Linked DNA regions of Homo sapiens: region 1 is linked to region 2. The links are contacts of gene promoters, found by promoter capture Hi-C in blood cells and fetal thymus (Javierre and others, 2016). All regions are on one chromosome and are shown on one strand. Each heading gives the region's core, a stretch centred on a gene start or on the middle of the fragment in contact. The rest is flanking DNA. Distances are from core to core; before and after follow the strand shown. Region 1 holds the start of SCAPER (S-phase cyclin A associated protein in the ER). Region 2 holds the start of TSPAN3 (tetraspanin 3).

Evidence for each region. Contacts are between HindIII fragments. The CHiCAGO score rates a contact against its expected background, and 5 or more counts as called.
Region 1: a fragment that was not itself captured here is called in contact with the fragment with the promoter of TSPAN3 in region 2 in 5 of 17 cell types (total B cells, total CD8 T cells, non-activated CD4 T cells and 2 more); the score reaches 7.0 in total B cells.

The regions. Positions count from the first base shown.
Region 1 is chr15:76,901,193-76,908,372 of GRCh38, forward strand. SCAPER (S-phase cyclin A associated protein in the ER) reads right to left here and starts at 4,148. Exons shown (of 32, transcript NM_020843.4): 1 at 4,107-4,148. RefSeq lists silencers at 3,724-3,803, 3,824-3,933, 3,944-4,253 and an enhancer at 3,994-4,494. The HindIII fragment of the contact is 186 bases long and covers 4,386-4,571 here.
Region 2 is chr15:77,069,080-77,076,103 of GRCh38, forward strand. It overlaps TSPAN3 (tetraspanin 3), which reads right to left and starts at 2,030. Exons shown (of 7, transcript NM_005724.6): 1 at 1,813-2,030. The coding sequence starts at 1,875. RefSeq lists a silencer at 1,497-2,196 and an enhancer at 2,337-2,396. The HindIII fragment of the contact is 12,417 bases long and covers 894-7,024 here.

The DNA.
Region 1 (7,180 bases), core at 3,229-5,728, 170 kb before region 2:
GCACTCCAGCCTGGGGGACAGAGCAAGACGCCGTCTCAAAAGAAAAAAAGAGTAATTTGAAGAGCAATATAGACATTTTATAATTCTAAATTGTTTAATAAGATTTTCAATTCTGATTACTTCTATATATACTGCCATGAATATGTCAACCAAGTTATTTATTTTATCTCATGAATGTGGCATGCTCAATTGAAAATACTGAAACTCTCTCTCTTTTCCAATACTGTATTAAAAGCAGGCCTAATGCATACTAAAATCTTGACAAATTAAATATGATGTCTGAAACCTGCTTCAAAACAATTTAGTGAGGAGGTAACTTTTATGAAATAATATTGCTCATGTATAATATATAGCTAATTTTTGAAATAGATTGATACATAGCAGTTCATCATACTATTCTCTTTTGCGTATGTTTCAAAACATAAAATGAACGTATTACTTTAAGAAGTTATCATTTTAGCAAAACTTTATGAAATCTTTAGTGTTTCATGTCATAGAAGAAAAAGTCTTTCCATAAATAATTTCTAATAATTTTTTTTTTTTTTGAGACGGAGTCTCGCTCTGTTGTTCAGGCTGCAGTGCAGTGGCACGATCTCAGCTCACTGCAACCTCCACCTCCCGGATTCAAGCGATTCTCCTGCCTCAGCCTCCTGAGTAGCTGGGACTACAAGCATGAGCCACCACCTCCAGCTAATTTTTTGTATTTTTAGTAGACACAGGGTTTCACCGTGTTAGCCAGGATGGTCTCGATCTCCTGACCTTGTGATCTGCCCACCTCAGCCTCCCAAAGTGCTAGGATTACAGGCATGAGCCACCGTACCCAGCCTCTAATAATTTTTAAGACTAGCTCCATCATTGGACTCCAGATCTTTTCACTCTTTATATTTCACAAGACCCATAGCCAATCAGTGAAAGCCAAACATGTTTGTGAAAAAGGTTAGCTACAAATGCACCATGGAATACTATGCAGCCATAAAAAAGAACAAAATCATGCCCTCTGCAGCAACACGGATAGAGCTGGAGACCAATGTCCTAAGTGACTTAACATGAGAAAAGAAAACCAAATACTGTGTGTTCTCTCTTATAAGTGGGAATTAAACACAGAATATGTGATTGTAAAAGTCACAAACAACAGGCACTAGGGATCACTAGGCCAAGGGGAGCATGGGCTGAAAGACCACCTGTTGTGTACTATGCTTATGGCCTGTGTGATGGGATAATTGGGACCCCAAGCATCGGCATCAATTTACCCATGTAACAAATCTACACATGTACCCTCTACTATATAAGTTGAATTTTTTTTTAAAAAAAGGTTACCATCCAGCAGAAACTGCAAACAGAATTTTATTAATGATTTAATTTTTGCTATGCCAGCCATTTACAGTTTTCTCTTCTACAATTTCAGAAATGCCAATTCCACAATGGATATCAGATTGTACCCTTACAGAGAATTCTATTAAACTTCCCCCTAAATAATACCCCCACTTTCTAAGTGTTTAAATAACATTCACATGTGATTCCCAAAGAAGTTGTTTATCCTTTAAAACTAGTCTGGGCTGTGGTCAGGTATGAAAGTGAAAGAGGCCAGGTGCAGTGGCGCACGCCTGTAATCCCAGCACTTTGGGAGGCCGAGGTGGGTGGATCATCTGAGGTCAGGAGTTTGAGACCAGCATGGCCAACATGGTGAAACCCGGTCTCTACTAAAAATACAAAAAAAAATTAGCCAGGCATGGTGGTGAGTGCCTGTAGTTCCAGCTACTCAGGAAGCTGAGGCAGGAAAATCGCTTGAACTTGGGAGGTGGAGTTTGCAGTGAGCCAAGATTGCGCCACTGCACTCCAGCCTGGGTGACAGAGTGAGACTCGGTTTCAAAAAAAAAAAAAAGAAAGTGAAAGAAATGACAGAATCTCAAGTCCCTTCATCTTACTTATCTTTAAAACATTCCTGCAGCTAAATGAAGACATTAATGACCTTAATATCAATCTTTTAGGAGTTCTTAAAATACCTATGAAGCACCAATGGCAAACATTTTTAAAGTCTGTTTAGAATACTATATCCTTTGGACCAGTCACCAAAATTTATTTATAAACACATTTGTACAGTACTGCTGATTACACTTCCATGGTTATTTGACCTGAACAACCAAGTGATTAACCATAATGCTATGGTCTGCATGTTTGTGTTCTTCAAAATTCTTGTGGAAATCCTAGTTTCCAAGGTCATATCAGGAGGTGGGGCCTTTGGGAGATGACTGTATTATGAAAGCAGAACCTTAATGAATGGGATAAATTCCCTTATAAGAGGCCAGAGAGAGACCCCTTCACCCTTGCACCATGTAAGGAGACAGCTAGAGGGTGCCATCTATTAACCAGAAAGCAGGCTATCACCAAACACTGAATCATCAGACATCTTGATCTAGGACTTCCCAGCCTCCAAAACTGCAAGAAATGAATTTCTGTTGTTTATAAGCCACTCAGTCTGAGGTATTTTGCTATACCAGACCCAAATGGACCAAAGACACATAGAGTATATTTTTAATGCAGCTCAAGGGAGTGTGGAGAAAGAAGGAAAAGAGCATTTGTTGAGGGCTTACCATGGGCTAGGAACAGTTCTCAATACTTTACAGACACCTAATTTATTACTATCAACAAAATTATGAGGTGGATATTATTCCTACTTTACAGATAAGAAAGGCTCAGAAAAATTAATTTGCCAAAAACAAGGGTTGGGGCTGAGATTCAAACTCAAAACAGTCTGCCTTCAAAGCCATCAGATTACTTCTCCCACAGACAACCTTCCAAATCACATTAAAACTTGACTCTTTGATTGATTAAAAATATTAATTCTTTAGTGGATATCATTCTTCAAGTGGCATAAATCATCTGCAACCAACAAACTTTGAGGAAAAGTCATAGTTAACAGAAATAACAGAAGGGAAAGAGCACCAGTATAGGCCAGAGTGGGACAGTGGTCAGACTACCAACCTTAGGTCAGAAAACTTAACCCCAGATTTACCACTCACCAGCTGGTGATCTAAGGCAAGTAATAACCTTTTGAGCCCCCGTTTCTCCATTCATAAAATAAGTATTACTCCTAGCCCATCCATCCTTCTACCAGATTATTTATGAAGATGAAAAGTTAATGATGAAATTAATCCATAAACTAAGACAAACTATAATTCATATAAGGAATTAGTATCTGTTCGGTAAAATGACTATTAATGAATAGCTATTTTCATGGAAAATAACTTGTCACAACTAGAATAAGAGATGCAGTCCACCAGCAACAGGAAGCTGCTCACAAACAGGCGGCCTCATCTCAGCTGGGGCCCCCTTAACAGCAGCAGGTGTTGCTTACAGGACCAGTTTTGTGCCTGCTTTCTAACAATCCCGTTCCTCCCTGGTGCCGTTCCCACGAACGCGCCTGGAAAACGGTGTAGAGGAAAGGCGCCAAGGAAGTGCTGTTTTGGAAAAGAGCAGCAACAGAGGCAGGAGGCTGGGTCCCACTACTCCCAGGTGCGAGAGGCTCTTCGCCCCTCCAGGCCTCAGCGCACGCATCTGGAAGACGGAGAGGCCATTCCTGCCCCGTTTCCTGGGCAGAGCTAAGATCAGAGTACAGGGAAAGCATGGTAAACCCCGCTGGGAATGACAGATGACGAAGACGATCACCTGTCAAACGAAGGGAGGCTCCTCCAGGGGCCCCTCGCATTTAGACATTCCAGAAGCCTCGTCACCCGCGGCCGGGGCTGCCCCCAAGTGAGGTGACGCGGCAGCCCCCCACTCACCCCTCAGACCGCGTAGTGTGCGGGGTCTCACGTCCCTCACACCCCAGATGAGCCCGCAGGGCAGGGCCCGGACGCGGCTCACCCCAGCCCCCGTCCCGAGGCCTCCGAGGCCGACCTCCGAGCCCTCCCCAGGCGACCGCGGCTCCCCTCCCCCAGCAACGATCCCTGCCCCGCTCAACTCGCACTCCCAGGTGAGGGGAGGGGGTGAAAGGGCGTACCCCGCCGCCATTTTGTCCCCTGGTCCCCGCAAGGCATTCAGACGGCCCGCGCCCCAACCCGGACCCGCCCGGGTCTGCGCTACGCACGCCCCTCGCGGACACTCACCCCCGACCGCCCTGCTTAGTTCGGGGCGGCTCAAAGCGTCCCGCCGGGAAAGGGGCGTGACGGGGCGGGGCAGGGAGGCCTCGGAGAGGCGGGGTGGCTTCCCGGCGCACCACGTGATCTCAGCCGCTGCCGCGCCGCTCCCGGCTGCAAGATCTGTGTTGTCCGCGCGCAGGCGCACGCCCGTTCGCGCCGTTGGGGCGCCCAGGCGGGAGGTGTGAGGGTTGATTTGGTTCGATGTCCCGGCGCGGCGTTTCCGAAGCTGTTTCTTTTCCTAGGTTAAGCTTACACCGCCGCTTTTGGCCACACAGGTCTTTCTCGTACTCAATCTCTTCCCTCCTCCTGCCTTATCACCACAGTCAATCCACAGATTAAGGACTTAGAGACGCGCCTCACAGAAATCTGTGCTGGCGAAAGCACTTGACAGGAGCACGCTGGGCTGCGCTGAACACAACTAGGCCTCCGAGAAGCTTTATCAGGGCCCTTCTGTGTGCCAGGCTTGGAAGGTCGAAGTACAGAGACCTAACAAATACGTTTCATCTACTTCAAAGACAAACATATGATGAATTAAATACTTTAACGTTTAAATCAGTCTGAACAAAATAGAAAAAAGATTCAATGCAGACTGTAATTATCAAACGAATATTCACCGTCCCTTTTCATCCAGCTGGGAAACAGCTCTTTACCCTTCCCTCTCCCTCCCCACCCGCAGTAGGCGGGAAGTCCTGGACTCACAAGCGTTGTGGGGGCAGGAACCATATGGCTATGTTCTGGCTCCCCTTCTCTCTTGCCTTCTTAGAAAACTCGCTTTTTCATTTATTCAGCAAATGTTTATTGACCACATACTATATATCAGATGGTATTCTAGATGCTTGGAGTTAATACGTGAGCAAAATAAACAGAAATCTCTAAAAAACCTCCGGCTTCTTGGAGCAGGGTGAAACCAGGCAAGTGTTACATCAAGTTTAGCCAAAAGCTGTGTCCTTACATATTTTAAGTTCAGCCTGAAGGTTTCTCCGTAAATAGTAAACTATAACCTAAATGGAGGTGTAAATACACTGCAACCTACTCTTGCGCCAATCACCAAGTTTTGGCCAAAGACGGCCAACTGTTCAAACCGTGTTCAAATAAGGTAAACGTCTAGCTATAACCATTCTGGCTGTTTCCCTACCTCACTTTTCTTTCTCTGTCTATAAACCTTTTTCCACCATGTGGCTCTGCGGGAGTCTGTATGAACCTACTCTGGCTCAGGAGGCTGCCTGATTCGGGAATAATTCTTTGCTCAAACTCTGTTTAATTTGGCTAATATTTTGCTTTTAACACAAGAAATAGTAAACACAATAAATAAGTAAATTATATAACATGATAAGCACTACAGTTAACAAAATGAGTAGGATAAGGGGGATAGAGTAGGGAGCATACTACAATTCTATAAAAGGCGGTCAGGGCCTCATTTCTTAATTATCCCCACTTCCTTTCATACTCATAAGCATGTAAACAACCTGAAGTCTCTCCCATCTTGAAATCTCCCGCCGAACCTACCAGACTCCACTTCAACCTCTGCTTTCTTTCCTATAATACATTTCTCCAATTATCTAAACAAGAGTGCCTCCAATTCCTCAACCACTACTCAAGTCTGGACTTACTGCACTCTGGTTTCTGCCCCACCACCCCACTGAAACCATTCTTTCCAACATCACTAGGGGCCAGCCGCCGTGGCTCGCGCCTGTAATCCCAGCACTTTGGGAGGCTGAGGCAGGTGGATCACCTGAGGTCAGGAGTTCAAGACCACCCTGGCCAAAATGGCGAAACCCTGTCTTTACCAAAAATACAAAAAAAAAAAAAAAAAAAATAGCCGGGTGCGGTGGCGCACACCTATAGTCCCAGCTACTCGGGAGGCTGAGGCACGAGAATCCCTTGAACCTGGATAGCAGAGGTTTGCAGTGAGCTGAGATCATGCCACTGCACTCCAGCCTGGGTGACAGTGCGAGACTCCATCTCAATTAAAAAAAAAAAAAAAAAAAAAGTTGGGCTGGGCTGGTGGCTCCCGCCTGTAATCCCAGCACTTTGGGAGGCCGAGGCAGGCAGATCACGAGGTCAGGAGATCGAGATCGAGACCATCCTGACCAACATGGTGAAACCCCATCTCTACTAAAAATAACAAAAATTAGCTGGGCGTGGTGGCATGTGCCTGTAATCCCAGCTACTCAGGAGTCTGAGGCAGGAGAATCGCTGAACCAGGGAGACGGAGGTTGCAGTGAGCACAGATCATGCCACTGCACTCAAGCCTGGCGACAGAGCGAGACTCTGTCTCAAAAAAAAAAAAAAAGTCACTAGGGATTTCCCTACTATATATCTTATGGACATTATCATCATTACCTAACTTAATTTCTCTTCATGACCCTCCTTCCTTCTGGAAATACTTTTCCTTGCCTTTCATTTTTACTCTCTTGGTAGCACTTCTCCATCTCTAACCACTCCCTCTCCATCTCTTTTAAAGTCTCTCTTATTTCTCCCAGCCTTTAAATATTGTTATCCCACAGGAATAGGTATAAGCCTTCACTCTTTTCCCACTGGACACACTCTCTACATGACCACTGCCTTTTACATAACTTTGGTTAGCATCTTTATGCTCTGGATTTCCGAATATATATCCCCAGCCCTGATTCCTACTCCTGGGATCCAGGCCACATTGTTAACTACCTACTGGTCATCTCCACTTGAATTAATAAAAATAAATATGACAAAAATAAAAATGATTCATCTTTCTTATATACATATAAAACAGCTTTATTGAGATGTAACCTACATACAAATCAGTGGTTTTTAGGATATTCACACAATTGTACAATCATCACTGCATTTTCTTTACCCCGGAAAGGAACCCAGTACTCACTTCTCCATTTTCCCTCAATTCTCTCAGCCATAGGCAACCACTAATCTACTTTCTCTATGCATAGATTTGCCTACTCCGGACACCTTGTATAAAGGGAGTCATGAGATGTGGTATTTTGTAACTGGCTTCTTTCACTTTGCATATATTCGAGGTATGTTTCTGGGCGCGGTGGCTCACGCCT
Region 2 (7,024 bases), core at 780-3,279:
ATTTGTTTTCCAGTCATTTAGAAATGTAAATATTATTCTGGGCTCTCAGGTTGTAGAAAAACAGGTAGCTAACCGTTTTGTGCTCTTGGGCCAGAGATTGCTGACTCCTGGTTTATAACGAGATGCTATGAGAATTAATGACTTAATCATTGTAGAATACATTTCTCTTTATGGAATAAAAAATGTTATGGATGCATAAGTAGCAGTAGGTATATAGATACGTATTAAATTAGCAAAAGATGCCCTTATAATGGTCAGATTCACAAATCATGCCACATCTACAAAGAGAAGACTGATACGACTTTTGCTAATGGAACTGGTTCTATATGTGCATTTCATTCTTCACAATAAACTCAAGAAACTGAAAAAATAAAATAAAATAAATAAATAAGCCTGTAACTCAAATTAAAGTATAAGAAACACTGCTCTAATTGGAAAAGAAGAAATCACGGAAATGCCAATGTCGCCTGGGTGTTTGCCAACAGCTACTACCTCCCAGTTAGGACTCTTCACACACAAACGCCCCGAAGGACTCTGGCAATACAAGTGTGTAGCAAGTGCTTTTTAACATATAACCATCCTTTTATGAGACAGCTGTCAGGATATGAAGTTTTATCCCTTGTTGGGGGGTCGGGGGAGGAGGAAAGGATTCTTTCCAGAACAGGTGTGCGTATGCGTGGGAGGGAGGAGCTGAATGGGGAGGAGGAAGAGGCACAGTATGGTTAACCGGAATGTTCAAGGAGTGCTCTGGCGACTGTGGACAGAGCAATCTGTCCAGGGCACTCAAGTGTTTAAGGAAATGACAAGTTCAGAGAGGCAAGGTGATTTGGGACCAGACTGAGGACTTCTGCTCCAAGACCAGGGGAAGGAGTTGAACCTTATTCTACCGCTGAAGCTTCTGTTTTCCTTATTTTCAGATCAAGTGATGTGATAGAGGAAACGTTTTAAAAGATTTATCCGGGTGCAAAGTCCAGATGGGCTGGAGGGTGGAGAGACGGATAGGAACAACTTAGGTTACTATAAAAGTCCCTGATGAGATAAGGACCCAAACTAAGATGACATAAACATTCCTTTCAAAGAGGGTGTACCCCTTAAAAATTCATAAGCCACCTTTTATTGAAAGTGAACTCATCACTTTCAAAATCTTGTGACATCTCCATCATATATTTAACCAAGAGTTATAATCTCACAGTTTGGTCACCCCCATGACCAAAACAAATAGACCGATGTTCTTGGTCAATGGATTATTTGGCTCCTCGAGTTGAAACCCTTCATTTTCTGGGCTGGTGACAGTCAGCCGGTTCTCCACACACAAAGGGCGTTAAGTGGAACCCCCGCCCCGGCTCCGCAGCGTCCCCGCGGATCTGCCCGCCTCGGGACGGCCACTCGTCTGCGAGGCCCCGACAAAGAGCGCGGAACCTGAGCCTCTGGCGAAGATCCTATTTCGAGCCCGACGTCCTGCTACAGTCTGCAATAAGCGCTCTCCGTCCAGCCGGCGACTCCGGGGGGGGGAGACTGGGGCGCCTGGCACGGAGCCAGCCCGCGTGGGCCGAGCGCGGAGGCGCCGGCTGGAGGCCGTGGAGTCCCTGAAGGCCTCCCCTCGCTGTCCTCCGCGCCCAGGCTCCCGGCTTGGTCCGGCAGGGACCTCGCGAAGCGGCCTCACACCCGGCCCTCCCCTCGCCTCAGCCGCCTGAGGGCCCGCGCGCGGCCCCCGCGCGCCCGCCCAGGCCCAAGCCCGGCCCCCACGGGCGCCTCCGCCGCGGCCTCGCCCGGCCCCGCCGCCGGCCCCTCGCTCTGCCCGGCCCCGCTCACCCAGAAGATGAGGTTGAGAAAGACCAGCACGGTCTTGGAGGAGGTGATGCCGCACTGGCCCATGGCGCCGGTGGCCCGCGAAGGCCCGGCCCGGAGAGCGGGGCTGCGCTCACCGAGAGAGCGGCAATGGCGGCGGCGCCTCCTCGCTAGGAACTGCACGGCCTGCGCGGCGCTCCCCGCAGCCCCTGCGCCGTCGCGCAGCCCCGACCCCAGCAAGTGCCTCGCTCCTCCGCGCAGCCGCCGCAGTCCCCTCAGGGCTCCCGCGCCGCTCCCTGGCAACCGAGTCCCGCCCCACGCGGCCGGTAGCTTCAGCCAATCGCCTCTGCGGAGGCTGCAGTGAGGCCACGCCTCTTAAAGGAGCCAAGGCCTCAGCGCCTTTTCTTGGCCTCTGGCCGCCCTTGGACGCAGATGGCTCCCTAGGGAGGTTCTGGTGGACCAAACCCACTCTCCTCCTATGACTATGCCACCCTTATAGATGATTCAGAGCCCTCTGAGTGCTATCTTTCTACCTAGCCCATTCTCCCCTAGGAAGGTTGGAGACACTAATCTCTGCCTGACCAGATTCTCCTGACCAGGTTAAAATCTTGGCAGCACTGTTGGTGAGAAGTGCAAAGAAAAACAACAAATACTTATGGAGAAACTTATTGTACCAGGCGCTGGGCTAGACCTCAGAAGAGTCAGAGAGGAGAAAAGGCTGGTGATGGCGTTAGCAAGGCAGAGACATGTTTGTGTGGGTGAGTGGTTGGGAACAAGTTCTATTCCAGGGTAGTAAGTTTTGGACCAAGATTCGCAACGATTACAGAAACATCTCTTTGCATTGCAACATTTCACATTCTTCCCCCAATCTTGAATCCGTCATAGCAATTAATTATTGGGTGCTCACCCGGTGCCAGGCTCCATTAGTTCATTTAACCCCCACCACAACCCTGGATGGAAGGCACTATGGTTATCAGCCTCATTTTACTGATCGGGTAATTGAGGCTTAGAAAGGTTAAGAAGTTCGCCCAGAGCCACACATAGTAAGTGGTCTAGTGCAAAAAACACATCATCAGTCACACAATAAACTGCCTCTGTTTGCTGTCTTTCCTGCCATTATAATCCTGCACTCCCTCCTTGACCGCGCCCGTAAGGATTTCCATTTACTGGTCTTTATCAGCTCGCTCTCATGCAATCTCCCCCACTCATCACCTTTCCCAGGCACTCTCAGAAGTACCTGTTAATCTCAGCATCCTGTGCATTTACACCAAGCAGCAGCAACAGCCATTTATTCACTCATCAAACTTGCCGCGTGTCCCCTCTGGGCCTCACTGTTGTCGGTGGTGGATATTCCACTGTGAGCAAGACGTATCCTTCCTTCCATGGCTTACATTCGTTCGGGCAGAGGAGGCAGACCATAAACAAACGGGCAAGTGGGTATATGACATGAGGTAGTGTTAGGAAACAATTCAGAGGAAAGGAATAGAGTGATGAGAGGAGTCCTCTCTGAGGAGAGAACATTGGAGGGGACCCAAGGGAGGTGAGGGGAACAGCCCAAAGATGAGAGCAGCAAGGACAAAGGCCCAGAGACCGGAACATGATCACTGTGCTGTAGGAAGGGGAACACAGAGAGCCTAGTGTGCTGGAGGTGAGCGAGGCCGGATCACCAACAGCCTACTACGCCAGGCAGAAGCCTTTGAGCAGACCAGTAACACCATCTAAGTGTTTCAAGTGCCATTCTTGCCATACCATGGAGGTCCTAGTTAAAGAAAGAAAAATGATGGGCTCTCAAACATGATTCCCTTTGAACATCTATCTTCTTGACGCCTCTGCCCTCTGTAAATTTCTCTGTCTGCTTTGCTCTGAGTGCTTTTCCTCCTTTTCCAAAACATCCCCTTTGCATTTCTTCATCCTCATCGTGTCCCTTCTCATTTCCCTGTGAAGGTCTCATCAAGTCCTTCTTGTGCCTTCTCCTTGAGTGGGTCTCAGACCCCCCCCCCCCCCACATTACAATCATCTGGGCCACACAGACAAACTCCATCAGATTCTCTGGGGGCGAGCCTCAGGGAATCAGGTGTTTTTCAAAAACACACCAGGTGATTCGAATATGCTGTTGGGGCTGCAAACCACAGTTCTGAGTTTACAAGCATGGTCATGCCTCTCCTATCCTAAAAAGAAAAGCCTCTCACTTAAACACCATGTTTTACTTTTTCTTTCTTCTCTTAGCCAAAGTTCCTAAAAGAGTCATCTCATCCAGTGCTTCTCAGACTTTGCCTTGCGCACAGATCACCTGAGGATGCAGACTCCAGGTGGTGGGGGTGCAGCTGGGCCCCTCTTTGTAGCAAGGGGCTGGACTTCTGCCCTTGACTCTTTTGCTTCCCACTCACTTTTTTTTGTTGTTGAGATGTAGTCTCGCTCTGTCGCCCAGGCTGGAGTGCAGTGGTGCAATCTCCGCTCACTGCAACCTCCGCCTCCCAGGTTCAAGCGATTCTCCTGCTTCAGCCTCCTGAGTAGCTGGAATTACAGGTGTCCACCACCACACCTGGCTAATTTTTGTATTTTTAGTAGAGACGGGGTTTCACCATGTTGGTCAGGCTGGTCTTGAACTCCTGACCTCATGATCCACCTGCCTTGGCCTCTCAAAGTGTTGGGATTACAGGCGTGAGCCATCGTGCCTGGCCTCACTTTTTGACTCACTGCCATGTGGCATCACCCCCACAGTGCCACCGATATCGCTCTTGTCAATGTTACCAGTGACTTATCTGCTACCCCTTCTCTGAGGTGGCATATATCATGGTTAAGAGCACAGGCTCGGGGACCAGGTAGCCTAGCTGGGTCCTCTCTCTGTGCCTCAGTATCCCCATCATAGGGAGAAAATGATGATGACATTACTTCCCTAATTATCATGTGATTGCTGTGAGAATTAAGTGCATTCATATACATATAGCTGTCAGAAAAGTACCTGGCACACAGGTGCTTTGTAATCACCGGAGTTTACTGTTTCCGAGACCTAACCATATTTGGCTCCGTTGACTTCTTCGTACTCAGAACTCTGCCTTTCCTTAGCTTCCATAACACCATCATCTCTTAGTTCACTGTCTGCCTTTGCAGCAGCACCTGTTCCTTGCACCCATTGGATGTTGGTGTCTCCCAGAGTTCTGGCTTAGGTCTTTTGATTTTCTCAACCAACCTGGGCCAGCTCACCCAGAGCACTGGATTCCGTTGCTATCCACGTGCAGGACTTTCCTGAACCTACAGCTTCAGCCCAGGTCTTTCTCTCAATTTCCTTTCCATGAATCCGACTGCCTGCTGTGTTGCTCCAGGTGGATTCATTTATTGATTCAACACATTTATTGGTTACCTACTCTGTGCCTGACCCTATGCCACGTGGTGGGGGGTGGTTCTAGCAACATAGTGGTTAGACCTGGGTGTGTGATGGCCCCAGGGAGCTTGCAATCCAGAGCGGAGATTCAACGCTAATTATGAAATTATTTATCTAATTGCAACTGGGATAAGCAATACAAAGGAGACCCTCAGGCTGCTGTGAGAGTTTATAACAGGGACCATACCATAACCTTGTATGGGGTTAACTTATATGTGTGCCAGACCCGGCAGGTCCCAAACTGAACTCATAATTTCCCCTCAACCTGCCTCTCCTCTACCTGTGTTCCTTAGCTTCATGAATAGTCCACCCATCCTTTTCCCTGGGCCAAGACTTGGATATTATGACCCACAGTCTCCCTCACTGACCCCTTCTACCCACCGAGAGGATCCTTCTTACTGGAAAATTAGCCTTCCTGGGTAACTCTTGGAACTCCAAATTCCTACTGCCCAGTGCTCAGGAAGTCTGATTTTACCTCCACTGACAAAGTTGCTAAGAGAGCAACTGAGGGCATGAAGTCCCTCCCAAGGAAGCACAGACCCACTCTGTCTTGCTGCATCTGACAGTGGCACACCTGTCTGGGGATGATGGGAGGATGGAGCAATTGTGACTTCGCTTACTGACCCCTGGCCTGTAACTTGCCCTAATAAACTCTGTTCTTCAACCCGTACTGTGTGAAGTAAAATTCACTCTGATCCATGTTGTATGACACAAAGAGTCTATCTTTTACCAAAAAAGAAAAGGTTTATTCATTTTCTTTCCATTGTAAAGCAATGCCTGCTTGTGGTGGTTTGTGCCTTCCATTTTTTTTTTTTTTTTTTTTTTGAGACGGAGTCTCACTCTCTCGCCCAGGCTGGAGTGCAGTGGCACGATCTTGGCTCACTGCAAGCTCCGCTTCCCAGGTTCACGCCATTCTCCTGCCTCAGCCTCCCGATTAGCTGGGACTACAGGCACCTGCCACCATGCCCGGCTAATTTTTTGTATTTTTAGTAGACACGGGGTTTCACCGTGTTAGCCAAGATGGTCTTGATCTCCTGACCTCGTGATCCGCCCGCCTCAGCCTCCCAAAGTGCTAGGATTACAGGCGTGAGCCACCGTGCCCAGCCTGGTTTGTGCCTTTCTTAAATCTGCTCTGTAGTATGATTTGGGCCATTGCAAATAATAATAATAATAACAATACCTGCTTGTGGCCATTTGTCTTTTTTTGCGCTATCCTGCATTGGATCGCCCTGCCTGTTTGGGAAGATCCCCATTGTATGAATTTTGGGGGCACCCAGACTGGAGCCTGACAGTCTTTCTCCCTGCACTCAGGCAGCTAGAACATGGCCATGTGATAGATACTGGCAAGTCAGATGATCCTGCCCAGAAATCTGGACCTTCAGGGAGTGACGCAAAGACACAGGGACAGTAAAAGAGAGTATTTACGGTGGCAGTGCAGGCATTGAGTCTGGCAGCAGCGCCGACTGTGTGTGCCGGGGTGGCAGTGCCGGCAGCAGCCGCCTAACCACACCATCCCTGTGGTTTGACCTTGGCTGAGATCCCTCCTACTAAACCTTCCACAGCTTCCAGCATTCCGAAGGATGCTGGAACTACCTAATGTTCTTACAATAAATCCTTTCCTGCTCAAGGTAGCTGGAGTCTATTTCTGTAATTTCTCATCAAGAATCCTGACGAATACAATGATTGTTATAGAAAAATCGGAAAATTCCAAAAAGTAGAAGAAAGAAAAATATTCATTTCTCTACATCCAGGAAAACAAAAAACAAAAAACAAAAAACTATGAACAGTTTCTCCCAGTCTTTTACTATGTACACGTTTCAATATAATTGTAGTTATGTGATTTTATAAAACTTT